5 separate regions of the Homo sapiens genome follow, and all the other regions are linked to region 1. The links are contacts of gene promoters, found by promoter capture Hi-C in human tissues and cell types (Jung and others, 2019). All regions are on one chromosome and are shown on one strand. Each heading gives the region's core, a stretch centred on a gene start or on the middle of the fragment in contact. The rest is flanking DNA. Distances are from core to core; before and after follow the strand shown.

What was found. The method cuts DNA at HindIII sites, captures the fragments that hold promoters and counts their contacts. A contact is called where the count stands out against the background at its distance.
Region 2: a contact is called between a fragment that was not itself captured here and the fragment with the promoter of PTGR1 in region 1, in 1 of the 25 tissues and cell types used here (lymphoblastoid cells).
Region 3: a fragment that was not itself captured here is called in contact with the fragment with the promoter of PTGR1 in region 1 in 1 of the 25 tissues and cell types used here (ovary).
Region 4: a fragment that was not itself captured here is called in contact with the fragment with the promoter of PTGR1 in region 1 in 1 of the 25 tissues and cell types used here (lymphoblastoid cells).
Region 5: a fragment that was not itself captured here is called in contact with the fragment with the promoter of PTGR1 in region 1 in 1 of the 25 tissues and cell types used here (IMR-90 fibroblasts).

Annotation. Positions count from the first base shown.
Region 1 is chr9:111,598,367-111,601,066 of GRCh38, forward strand. PTGR1 (prostaglandin reductase 1) reads right to left here and starts at 1,281. Exons shown (of 10, transcript NM_001146108.2): 1 at 1,237-1,281. RefSeq lists an enhancer at 1,132-1,704. The HindIII fragment of the contact is 5,410 bases long and covers 1-2,700 here.
Region 2 is chr9:111,936,334-111,939,033 of GRCh38, forward strand. No RefSeq gene overlaps it. Among named protein-coding and RNA genes, the nearest start is that of MIR4668, 5.6 kb to the left of the region's middle. RefSeq lists an enhancer at 1,552-1,861. The HindIII fragment of the contact is 5,345 bases long and covers 1-2,700 here.
Region 3 is chr9:112,027,760-112,030,459 of GRCh38, forward strand. LINC02977 (long intergenic non-protein coding RNA 2977) reads right to left here. Exons shown (of 3, transcript NR_186812.1): 3 at 779-2,032. Among named protein-coding and RNA genes, the nearest start is that of LINC02977, 11 kb to the right of the region's middle. RefSeq lists enhancers at 1,054-1,103, 1,414-1,543. The HindIII fragment of the contact is 3,770 bases long and covers 1-2,700 here.
Region 4 is chr9:111,982,680-111,985,379 of GRCh38, forward strand. No RefSeq gene overlaps it. Among named protein-coding and RNA genes, the nearest start is that of MIR4668, 52 kb to the left of the region's middle. RefSeq lists enhancers at 800-859, 1,160-1,259, 2,590-2,700. The HindIII fragment of the contact is 6,595 bases long and covers 1-2,700 here.
Region 5 is chr9:111,093,323-111,096,022 of GRCh38, forward strand. No RefSeq gene overlaps it. Among named protein-coding and RNA genes, the nearest start is that of LPAR1, 56 kb to the left of the region's middle. The HindIII fragment of the contact is 5,286 bases long and covers 1-2,700 here.

The sequences.
Region 1 (2,700 bases), core at 31-2,530:
CTCCCCAGCTCCCCTACCGGTGCCGCGGGAGGGGACACGGTGACCTGGAGGGAGCACTCCCGCATTGCGAGGGAGCCAGGGGGGCGGTCTGATCTGCAGCCCGGGGTTGTTCCTTCTTTTCTTTTTTTAAAATTAAGACTTTTTTTGTGACGGAGTCTCGCTCTGTCGCCCAGGCTGAAGTGCAATGGCGCGATCTCAGCTCACTGCAACCTCCGTCTCCCGGGTTCAAGCGGTTCTCCTGTCTCAGCCTCCTGAGTAGCTGGGATTACAGGCGCCCGCCACCACGCCCAGCTAATTTTTGTACTTTTAGTAGAGACGGGGTTTCCCCATGTTGGCCAGACTGGTCTAGAACTCCTGAGCTCAAATGATTCGCCCGCCTCGACCTTCCATAGTGCTGGGATTACAGGCGTGAGCCACCGCGCCAGGCCCTACGTATCATTTTTACGGTGAGACATTTGCAGTTTACTCTGTTATTTCGAAATACACATTATTGGCTCTAGTCACTCTGCTGTGCAACAGATCTCAGAACCTACTCCTCTCGTCTCTGAACTTCGTACCCTTTGGCCAACAAGCCCCCATTCCCCCCCGAACCCGCTCCCAGCCTCTGGCAACCATCATTCTAGTCGTTATTTCTATGAGTTCAACTTCTTTAGAGTTCACACATCTTTGTCCCTTTCCCCAAAAAAGCAACCGCTGGGCTTCCAAACTCGCTACAAGTCCAGAAGCCCTCCTGGAAAGGGTCTGGCCGCAGAGGGGCCAGGTCCCGGGAAAGTCTCGCCCGCCCGAGGAGGGGGCCTGGCGCGGCGCCCGGCCTTTGCCCGCTCGCCCTTTGCTCCCACCCTCGCCTCCCGCCGCCCGCCGCCCGCTTGCCCATTCCCGAATCCCCACCCCGATCTTTCTTCTTCTACCCTCCCCCAGTTGTGCAGTCCAGCAAGTTCCCTGGCCAGCCCCCTCCCGGGTGCAGGAAGCTACCGGGTGTCCCGGGTTGTAACCAAGCTTTCCTATTCCCTCCGGCGCGCGGCTCCAAGCTCTCCAAGGAACTGCGGGGGCGGGAGGCGTCGGGACGTCGGCTCCCAAGATCCTCCGAGTGCAAGACCCAGCGGTCATTTCGACGTAAGGGGAGGAGGTCTAAGAGCAAACCTCCTCCACTGGGGCGTCTAGAAACTTGGCAGGAAGAAAGCAAGGGGGTTAGAGGAGGGAGAAAAGGGAAGGAAAGAAAGCAGGAGGTCTACTTACAGGAGCCCGAAGGTTCCACTGCCTGGGGAAGGCGGCTGGGACTGCGCAGCCGGGCGCCCGGGGTCCGACTTATGACAGGTCCCAAGAGAGGGTGGGGCCACCCCAGGGCGGGGCTGCTTCTTTAGGGTGAGAGCCCGGCCCCGAAAGGGTCACAGGAGGAAAACCAGGGTCCGGGAAATCTGAGTGCGTTTGTGTGTGTGTGTGCGCGTATCTCTGTGTGCCTATGTGCATGTGCGCGCGCGTATGTGTGCATGTGTGCGTGTGTGTGCGTGCGCGCCCGCGCGCCCGTGTGTGTGCGTGTAGGGGGTTAGGGACTCCTGATAGGAAAATTCCTAACAGAGCTTTGTCCAGCTGACACTGGACCTCCGCCTGGGGTCCTAAGTTGGAGCCCGGCGGAAATATGCCCCGTGGGGGAACCAACCGTGGCATCTGCCAAGCAGGCCGGAAGGGTCCAAAGGCAGGGCCTGGGGCGGCCGCAGCCCTAATAAGCCCCCGGTGCTGGCTCCGATCCCTGGGCTCCCCGTCAGCCCTGCCGCTTGCCCGCAGTGCAAGCTTTCGCCCAGGGCTGCGGTGCAGACACCCTGCCTGTCTGTCCCCAGTCCGCCTGCTGAACACCTACTCGCCTTCCACCAGCCAATTCAAGGTCACCTCTGTGAACCCTTGCCAGACTCCCCCAGGCAGGAGTGAGCACTCTTGCCACTGAGGCACCCCACCCATCACACCCTAGCAAACATCAGGCCTTGACCTGGCTTCTGCAAGGAGAGGTGGTCTCAGGCAGGGGTTGAACGTGAAGCTAAGTCGTTGGTATTAGACGACTGCAGGTTCGAAGCCTGCACCTGCCACTTACTAGTGGTGTAGCTTTCAAAGACTTACTTACCTTCTCCTTGCCTCACTCAGTTCAGCCATCTGCAAGATGGGGATAAGAAGAATGCCTAACTTCCAGTCATTGTGAAGATTCAATGTCTTTAATTTATTTATTTAATTTTAATTATTTTGAGGTCTTGCTCTGTCACCCAGGCTGGAGTGCAATGGTGGGCATCATAGCTCATTGCAGCCTTGAACTCCTGGACTCAGGTGATCCTCCTTCAGCCTCCCTAGAAGCTGGGATTACAGGCCCACCACCACACCTGGCTCAATGTCTCTCCTTGTAAGGATACCCGCCATATTGGATTAGAGCCCCACTTGTCAGCCTCCGTTTAACTTAAACACGTCTTTGAAGGCCTTGTCTTCAAATACTGTCAAATGGATTAGGGCTCACTAATATGGCCTCATGTAACCTTAATTACCTCTTTAAAGGCCCTATCTACAAATACAGTTACATTCTGAGTACTGGGACTTGGGGATTTTAACACATGAAATTGGGGAAGACACAGTTCAGCCCATAACAGAGTGTGTGGACCAAGCGTGGTGGACGCATGCCACAGGATATACACAGCATCAGAAGCACTGGGTTCCATGTACATA
Region 2 (2,700 bases), core at 22-2,521, 340 kb after region 1:
AAAGTTTTGTTGTTTATAACCCACCCAGTCTATGGTATTCTGTTATCGGAGCCGTAAGACACAGTCTAAAAGGGATCTGGCCCAGTAAACAAACATTCCTTCTCATTTGTGTACTTCTAACCCTACAGTTTAAGAAATGATCAACACAAAGTTGAGTATGTCTTAGAATTTCATAGCTAGGTGGATCTTGAGGATCCCTCACCCTTATTTTAGAATGAAGAAGCTGAGACACCCACGGTGAGAGCTGTGATCATAGGGTTAGGTAGGCATGGTGCTGGTGGCAGAGCTGGGAGTAGCCCCTCTATCTGGTCCCAGTGTGGTATATTTCTCCGCTGGACCACATTTAAATTTATGCTTACACTGGCTTGAAAATTTACCTAGACCTTAAGGGGGAAAAATATCACAGTTTTAATAACCATCTGTATCCTAACTCAAAAATTGTTCTAGAGAACCAGATTCAAACCTGTAGAACAAGAATGTAAATTACTATAAAGCTCATTTAAAGTGAAATGCTTTACATACATGATTGATAAGATTGATGCATACCACAAGACTGTGTTCATGAGAATGGAAATAGTTCAGACCTTTCCTTCTGAAGTTTATCAGGATCTAGTGCTTGAGTTATTTATTTATTCATTTCAAGTTATAGTTTACGACCATATCAAGTTCATTTCGGTGAAAAGAAAGCAAACCGCAAAATGGTGAGTACCTGTCTCTGCAGAGCTGCAAGGATATGTGTTTAGTTGGGTAATTTGCTTTAAAAATATTGATACCTAGAAAAAAGTTTAAAATCACTATCCTAGTATTTTCTAAAAACAAAAATACATATCTTTAAGAGATCCCTAAGCAGCTAGTTTCCTAAGAACCAAAATGTGCTAAGCCTTTCACATGGCCCCTCCTCAGTTCCGAGAGAAATTGGCAGAGACTGTGGGTGTCTGGAATGGTTTCATGTGGTTGTGCTGTTTAGACTAATCATCATTAAGACATCCATGCTAATAGCATGGACTTGTAATTATCTAATTTAAGCAATTTAGGGATATCATTTATTCTTCTACAGGACTGAGAGTATCTGCACCCCTCCTCTGCTGCCTGCACACCCCATTGCGGTCATGCCACCTTTGTTTCCCAACCCTTGTCACCAGATGTGAAACCTCTATCATTTCCCCTCATGACTGACGGACACCAGGCCAGCCTAAGGAACATGCTGGAGAAATCCAGCAGACTATTTATTGTGCAGCTCTGGAGCAGGGGAAAGGAATGGGTTAGAAGTGGTGACTTGGGAGTAATTTCCCTAGAGGTGATGGCTGAGACAGTGACTATAACTAAAGTCAAAGTGCCATTTAGAGAGACAATGGAAGAAAAACATCTAGGAAAAGAGGCTGCCAAACCTGGGGTCCAAATGGGCTTTTTGGTAGCTATGGGACTTTAGGAAGCTTCCTTCATCTTTCTGAGCCAAGCTTTCTTAACCATGTAGAATGGAGATACTAAAGCACCTGAGGTGGTAGAGATGATTCGATGAGGTCATGTACATGAGCATAGGGACAGTTAGTGCCTTTTTCCTCCCAAAGAAGAAAGAAATAGTAAAAGGAGTGCCACAGTAGCCTTGGAAAGAGAGATTTCAAGAAGGAAGTGGTCACGGGAGGGGCCGTTGACCGTAAAGGATGAGAAGAGGCTGGTGAACTCTGGGGCAGGAAACTCCCTGTAGAGTTGCCAGCGTGGGTCTCCGCCATAGTGAATTGTCTCAGACGTTGATAGATGAAGTGTCTGCGTGGGAGTAATACAGCTTCTTTATGAACGATTTTTCTTGTTTTACACAGTGATATATTTTCTACAGTGAGAGACAAAGGGGTGGGACTTTCAAAGACAGAAATTGCTCCTGACCCTGAGAGCACCCATATGACTCTGATGCCAAGGAAACAGTTTAAGAAAGGCAGCTCCCAGGAAGCCAGTTCATCAGAGTGGAAGAAGCAGAAGTCAGATGCTTTAGGTTTGGCTGCGTGTGAAAAAGACATGAAAGCGATGGGCACAGATATTTGGAAACTGCAACAACGATGCATTTCCACCCAAGGTCCCAGTAATACTAAGCCAAAAAACTAAGCCTGACTTGAATTTGTGAGAAATGTCCTAAGAAGTTGGGTCATTAAGAGACGATGAAGGGGAATTGTCCATCCCCATCTTCCAGTCTCCTGACTTTATCCTAGACTGTCTCCCAACAGCATAATCGGCATCCCGGAAGCAGCTGTGGGCACCCTAGCCCTGCCCACAGTCTGCCCTTTTTCATTTTGTTCTGATTCGCTTATTTTTGGTTATATTGCTTGTTTTACTTCCTGCTTTGTCTCTACATTGACTTGGAGCTTGACTTCTGACTTCAGCTTCTTCCTCTGACCCCATGTTCCTCAGCCTTACTCCAAGCCCAGGAAAAGGTGGTCCTTAATTTTCTATTCTCATTTCACATCACCATCTCTCCAGCCTGAGCTCTCCACCCCCAACCCAATGGCTCACTCTCACCAGCCGACCCTTTTCCGTGTGGAACCAGAGCTTCCTTGCTCCCATGCTGTTTCCTTGCCCTGAAAGTTTCTCTCCCTTCATCCTCACTTTCCCTGTCTATGGGGATACTCTCCTTCTTTATTGTTGGTTTTTTTGTTTTATTGTTTTTTGAGACAGAGTGTCACTCTGTCACCCACCTGGAGTGCAGTGGCG
Region 3 (2,700 bases), core at 127-2,626, 430 kb after region 1:
GGTGATTGGGTAAAGATAATCATATAAATAATTGTGCTATTATAATTATGATGAATGGTATTAAGAAAAAATACAGATTGGTGTGAAATGTTTTAAATACAATGCGGGTTCTTGTTTCATTCATTACACCAAATACATTCCAAATGCAACAAATGTTTTAAAGTACGGCTAAAATTGCATGAGAGCTAGGAAAGAAATGGATAAATATTTTTAAATCTTGGGTGGAAAGTCTTTCTGAGCACATCATGAAATTCAGTAATCACAAACAAAAGATCAGTAACCTGGACTAAGTAACAATGAAAACTTTCCCATGGCAAAAACAAGCAAAAGTCTTATAAATAAAGTTGCAAGACAAAGAGCAAATATGGAGAAATATGTGCAATATAGATAACAAGCAGCTTGTGGCTTCCCTAATATAAAAAGAGTTGTGTAGTTATTTAGAATAAATCACCCCCTTCCCAAATAAAAAAGTATAGGTCTTCAGCTGAGGAAACGTTTTCTCCTGTCTCTACTGAACTACTCTCCCATACTCTGAAGTTGAAGGAAGGAGGTATAACCAATGGCAGTTGCTATTACTCACTCTTACCAGGAGTAAGGGCCAGTGCCCTTCACACACACACCCCCCACACACAACACACACAAATGTACACACAAACATAGACACAATGCACTCAGCTCTCACACACACACCACATACACACCACACACACACATACGCACACACATGTATATACAAACATGCACCCAATGCACTCAACTCAAATACACACAACACATATACAACACATATCTTGGGCAGTTTATTGTAGGGTCATACCTGCCTGCACGGTATGATCTGTACCTGTACCCCCTCTGCGTACCACTCAGCTGTTTCTAAGTTTTGCACTCTATCTGGATCCAGAAAGATGCCAGTGAACGTGGTCACAAAGGGGACATGTTCTGCCTGCTCCCCAAGGTGGAATCAGTGCATAGAGTCCCGTGGCTGCCTATTTTCTGGTTCGGGTCATGAGAAAGTCACTTCCTCCCTTTGCAAAAGGGTACTGTTTTTGTGAAATGAAGCCAGGGTACGCTGCGTGCATATCTGAAGTCAGATCCTTCTGAGGTTCTGCCGTTAGCTTGTCCATCTTCATTGTCAATGGTATCGGGAAATTCCCCTCCTTTCCCCAGCTTTGTTGGGTCTTCAAGGGTGACTGAAGGAGAGGTTCTTATGAGTCATTGCATTGAAGGCCACCAGCCAGACACCACTGTGAGCCATAAACTGTCATATAAAAGCTTTTCCAACCACCACCACAACAACAAAATATTCTCAGAACATAGATATACACAGAATACGGTCCCTGTGTCAACAGTCACTTGTGTGGGCTCAGTGCTGACAACGGTGCTGTGGCTACTCCAGGTATGCTGCAATCCCTCTTTGAAGATTGCCATCAGGGCTGGAAACACATATTTTTGGTATTCTGAGTCCACAAGTGTAATATTTTTACATCGTGTTTGATTTTCGGAAATGGTTAAAAGTCATTCGCCACATACTTCAGTTTATAAAAGAAATGTCCAACTGGCTGGAAAGAGTGGTGGAAGGGCAGAGGGGTGGGAATGGTTAATGGGTACCAAAAATTTAGAAAGACTGAATAAGACCTAGTATTTGATAGCACAACAGGGTGACTATAGTCAATCATAATTGAATCGTACATTAAAAAATAACTAAAAGAGTATAATTGGATTGTTTATAATACAAAGTATAAATGCTTGAGGGGATAGATACCCCATTCTCCATGTTGTGATTATCACACATTGCACACCTGTATCAAAACATCTCATGCATTCCATGAATATGTACACCATGTACCCACAAAAGTTACAATTAAAAATAAAAAAAGAAATGTCCAACAGGCTAAGTTTTAATGATATATATTTTATATGGATATATAATGTTTTTACCCTACATAGACAGAGAAAACTGTAAAGTAATAAGACTAATTGATGTTCTTTTGCAGCTCATAAACACTCCGAAGGCAATTCCCAAAGGTAACTTCTGAAAAAAAAAATGTTAATACTAATAGTGTCACTGGAATATGCATTTAGTCTTTCAAAGAAACTACTTAGAAGGACAACTATAATTCCGTTGAATATCTAGTATGTTTTGGGGAAGTCTCATTAGAGTTACGGTTTGTCTAGAAGATGTTTTTTTAAATGTTGTTTTGAAAGACTTCATAAGCAAATTGTCCCCTTCCTTTACCCACTTCCTTGCACCGCCCCCCAACAGTCAGCCAATCCAATGCACTGTCAAATTCTTTATTTTTATTTTGATAACATCTCCTTTTCATTAGAACCTTCCTCTCTAGTCCCTCTATTTCAATCTTTAATGTTGTTCTTTGTGCTGTTTCATGCCTTTGTTTACATTCTTACACACACACACCCCATTCCTGGAATTTCCCTCCTAGTCGTCTCTGCCTGAAAAAAAACCCTACTAACCCTTTGAGGCCAGCTCAGACTTCACCTGTGTGGCCCTTGCTGGCCTCTTGTACTTAATCACTCTGTTGTTATGCTTGTCACTCTGAACCACTGTGTAGTATAAAAACTCCATCACTGAAGGAGCTGGGTAAGGTGTTGCTGGATGTTGTGAAATGAAGGTTAAACTGATTTCTCAATCACAGGGGAAATTCAGCATCAAAATTAAAGCAAATGATATCAGTTTATTTC
Region 4 (2,700 bases), core at 191-2,690, 380 kb after region 1:
CTCCTCCTCCCAACCCCTTCCTAATGTCTGGACCCATTCGTTTGCAGCCCTGAGCTCACTCCTTAACAAATGACACTGCCCCTTTGGCCCTGACTTCTGGCTTCCCCTCCTCTACCAGGACTAGCACATCCACCCCTGGCTGCACTGCTTCTGGCTGTGCAGGGCAACCACTCAGACTGTCTATTCTTGCCTTTGCCCTAAAATGTGGGCTCTTGTAGGCACTGTCTTCAGCTCCTACATGGGATGAGGACTTCAGAGCGCAGAAGTCGACAGGCTCCCATGATTGTGTCAAGGCAAGAGTCAAGACCCACTGGAGGGCAGGGACCATGTCTGCATCTGTCTTTTTCACTGCTGCATCCTCACGGCTCAGGACACTCCCTGGTACAAAGCAGATGCTTAATAAATACTCATTGGATGGACAAATGAATGGATGGACAGATGAATGAATGAATGAATGAATACACAAATGAATCAGATCAGAGATCAGAGAGGAAAAAACTGCTTACGTTTTTAACACGTAGATGTGTTGCTTTTTGTGATCTTTTCTACTTCTCTTTAGTGAGTAGCAATAAAATCAGTAAGGAGAAGAGGGTCTGTGTGTTGGTTTTCTGGAGGAGGAAGATGGGAAGATTTCCCTCTGCCCTGTGATCAGGCTCTGAATGGGGAGAGTTGTCCCAGGACACAGAGCAAGTGGTGATAGCATGTGATGGAGGGAGGAAAGGAACACCTGCAGCATAGGGAGGAAAGGAACATAGAGCTGGCTGGAGACTGAGAAACCACTACTTGTTCTATGTCCTGAGAGAGAGGGGGGTTGAGCAGGAGAAAGGGCTGCTGGGGTTTTCCACCTGCAGGCACCACGGCTGAAAGGCCTCCTGCCCAGGTCCTACCTCTGACTCAGTACCGACCTTAGGTAAGGCCCTTTCCCCATTTATGGCCAAGTCAGAAGATGTGGCCCAGTCTGAGGTTATCAAAAGGCAGAAGCCTCATGAATACACCTGGTTATTAGCTCTGGCAGTGTAAAACCAACAGCAGCACCAACCACATGGTGTGAGCTTCCTCCTCCACTTCTCTGTTCAGTTTCTCTTCCTGCCTGTTTTCTCTGCTGGGTGGGCAGTTCAGAAGGCTTGGGCCTACCATGCCCCAAACAGAAGAGGCTGCTTTCCTTCCCTTCTGAGCAGCCACAGCAGTGTGAACCCAGATGTGTATCTGTCACCTTTTCCTCACTCCCATCCCGAGCCCATGTGTCCCATGAAAATGAGCCATGAACCCCCCTTTGGACGGTGGGAAACTTGATGACAGGTCCAGGTCCCCGATTTGCAAAACAAATTGCCTCTTCTCTTTCTTCCAGCCCATGCGTCTCTCTTTGGGCAAAAGTTAATTCTCACCAACCTCTATCAACCTCCTCGGGTTGACTTCGCTATGCTTTTTCTGGAAATTTGTGCTTCCCCATTTCTTAGAGCACAGCAAACTTGGGGTGCCCTGAAGGCTGAGACAGGGGCAGGGTGTGAGCAGCACTGGGCCTCTAAGGATGCTCCTCCTTGTACATTCCTGCCACATTGTGGGGACACAATCCCCATCAGCGTGATGATGTCATAATTGGGGTGGGCGAGATAGGGAAGTTCATTGCCTGTTGCATCCTTCCTGGCACCATCTTGGGACTCTTCCCACTCATTTGCTACTCAGGATCCAGGGTTTTCCCAGACCAAGACACAGAGGATCAGATGTTCAGCCATACCTACTCCCTTGTGGAGGTGCCAATCATAACTAAGGTGTACTGAGCATTGACCTTGTTTAACCAGACATTGTTGTATCAAACACTTTATCTTCATTAACTCGTTTGATGCTCATAACAATCCTACAAGGCTTGTCACATTATTCTTTTCACCTTTAAAATGAAAAAAAAAAAAAAAAAAAAACAAGCTTAGGAAGGTAATTTGCCCAAAGTTACCCAGCCACTAAGTGGTAGAGGCCCCACACACCCCTCCCACCATGACCACATCTTCTTTTTTTTTTTTTTTTTTTTTTTACAGAGTGATAGAGTCTCACTCTCACTCTGTCACCCAGGCTGGAGAGCAGTGGTGTGATCTCGGCTCACTGCAACCTCTGCTTCCCAGGTTCAAGTGATTCTCCTGCCTTGGCCTCCTGAGTAGCTGAGATTACAGGCATGCACAACCACGCCTGGCTAATTTTTGTATTTTTAGTAGAGACAGGGTTTCACCATGTTGGCCAGGCTGGTCTCGAACTCCCGACGTCAGGTGATCCACCCACCTCGGCCTCCCAAAGTGCTGGGATTACAGGTGCGAGCCACCGTGCCCAGCCAGCCACATCCTCTTATAAAGTGGAGGGGTGGAGGAAGGAAGGAGGTCTCTACAAGGGTTTCCTTTTGGGTCTAACGATTAGTGAGCCCTCTCTAGGGAAGGAAAACCAACATCTGTGCAGAACTTCAGGCTGGTGAGGAAGATGTTGATCCCAATTAGAATCTGGCATCTGGCACTTGCAATAAATACCAGGGCACCTGCTTGTGTCCGCAGAATCACCCCAGCCTTTGTGCCAGAAAGAAAACACTCTTCACTGGATCCTCAAAGGAGTCCAGTCTCTGGCCCAGCTCTCAGGGAGCTCATGGTCTGGTGGAGGTAATGAACTCCTCTCCCTCACTCCACGTCTCCCTAATTCACACCTCCTTCCTCTGAAAAGACTCCC
Region 5 (2,700 bases), core at 96-2,595, 500 kb before region 1:
CCAGCAAGTCAAGTCTGCAGTGAGCCATGATTGTGCCACTGCACTCTGGATGACAGAGTGAGACTCTGTCTCAAAAATTGATGATGAAGAAGAAAAAGGAGGAAGAGGAGGAGGAGGAGAAGGAGAAGGAGAAGAAGAAGAAGAAATCATTAGAAATCGCTTATGTCAATAACTTTGACAATTTAGCTGAAATAAATGAATTCCCAAAACTGATGCAAAAAAATGAAAATCTGAATAACTATTAAAGTTAAATTCCTAATTAAAAATCTGATGTAAGTCATTGTTTAGCCTTTATAGAGTCCAACATCTGTGACACATACATACATGTGTGTACATACACACATACATGATCATACATGTCATATATAATCCACTTCTGCATCTACAGAGATGGTATCAGGATTGCATATATCACCCTTCCACACCCCTATAAGGGTGCCCCTGAACACCAAGTCCCCAGAGGTTTCTCCAAAACCTCTCTCCAAAGCTGTCCATGACCACTTTAGCCCACGGGGGTGACTCCCTCGCTTATACTTTTTGCTCTCTCTCATCTTTTCAAATATGTGTGCCTTCTTTCCCAAAAGGTGTTGTCTATACTTAAGGGCAGGCATTTCTTGTTTAGAGCTCCCTCTGTAAGCTCTCATATAATCAACATTTAACAATACTTGTAGGTTGCATAGAAAAATAGAGAACATTGTCTTAATATTCAGCCACACAGAGTTAAAGGGCATGTTACTCCACACTCAGTGACGCTTCTGAGATTAGTTCTGAAAGATACAAAGGAATAATTGCCATTTTAATGTTTTGTTTTGTTTTTGTTTTTGTTTTTGTTTTTTTGGTAGAGACAGGATTTCACTATGTTGCCTGGGCTGGTTTTGAACTCCTGGGCTCAAGCAATCCTCCTATCTTCATCTCACGTAGTGCTGGGATTATAGGTGTAAGCCATTGTACCCAGCCTCATTTTAATATTTGATTAAACTCAAGAGTTTATTTATCGGGGACCTACTTCAGCAACAAGATTTACTAAGATAAGTGTGAGAGGTTCATCTCAAAATTAAAGCCCCTGATCCTGGCCTGTATTAATGGGAAGAACAAGAACATTGTGACCTCTCTGTGGGATTCTGCATTGCTGTTGCTGTATCTATGACAAAGAACCTCAAAAGGGGGACTTTCTAGGTCAGAGTTGAGGGTTAGTTCAGAGAGAAATTCAACCTTGGCCTTGGTTCTGATCTCCCCTGGCTTTTAGCCACAGGATGACCCCTTCCCTGTGTCTTTGATGGTCAGGGGGTGGAATATCCCCAGAGTCCCTATTTCACTTCCCTAAAGGGGAGGGAGTATTCTGGATTCTAGAAAATTAGAAACCAAAGAGCATTGTCTTCTGAGAAGTAGAGTTAGAGAAAGAGGAAGAGATGGTGAAGCCAGGAGGGGCCAGGAGAGTTTACACAGACTTGCTTCTGACTGTCCATGACTAAAAACTTTAGCAGTGACTCAGCATGGACCGGGAGGTGGGACTATTATAACTAGAGCAGGACACACTTATTGGAATCATGGCAAAAGGCCCTTTTCTCTGGCGTCTTAGCAAAAGGGATACAGTGAGATTTTCTAAAGTCAACAAAGTCAGATTCTTTGAATTTGTAAATCTTCCCTTGTCACTTCTCAGCATGAAGAAAATTGCTTATAGCTTTCAAGAATAGTACCATTATTCTTTCAATTAGCATTTTATGTACTACCCCCTGTCCATCTTCTCTCAATGAGACTCTCCTGAAAGCATGCTGTCTTTTTCAACCTGTTTCTGTGAAGAGGAGAGCATGAAATGTGTGGAATACTGTGCTGAGACCTTTATCACAAGAAAGAACCCAGAGGATTTAGACAGGCAAGGGAGTCAGGAAACTTGCATGTCATATCCTACAGGAGGCATAAAAATCATGAGGTAAGGCTTGCCTGGTTATATCATTTGCTGGAACAACTTTAGGAGAAGAGCAATGGGGTTCACTTACAGAACTTAGACAAGACCCATGTTAGCACAAACTGGGAAAAGATAAAGGTCAAATCAAATAGCCCTGGTATGAATTTATTATTAGGACTGCTTTTTTGAAAAACAAGATTCTGTTATATCACAGAGAGAAGCATGAAGTATCTATCCCTATGGAGTTAAACACGGAGTGAAATTCTAAAATCCTTCCGTCTAACAGCCCCTACATGCCATAAAACTGATGTGCTTCCTGCCAGTTGGGACGTTCCCAGCAACTGATAACCAAGAGCCATTTGAGAGCTCTGAGGAGTCCTTCCAGACGGCTTTGTTAGACAATGTCATTAAACTTCTTGTTTCCATGTGCACCAAAGTGTTTGTTTTAAACAGATTTCCTATGACCCCCACATGTGTTTAAATTTTCTGGACTTGATGTCTTATTTAGAAAGCCAGCTTAGCCCATGTCTGAGCAAAGTAATGTGATATGACAAGCTAACTGGGCATGAAGTTCATCCCAGGCATGCTTGGGACCAGAAAATTGAAGAAACACGAGTACTCACCCACCGTGAGGGTGTAACAAGGGAGGGGTGGGGAAGGTGGAAATCCTAAGGGGGAACACAATAATTTTTTCATAAACCGAGTGAAACAAATTAAGATTTTAAAAATTCCATGATGGCAGATTTTGACATCAGCAATTATCAGAGGATCAACCTCCTCTGCTCTTTTGGGTT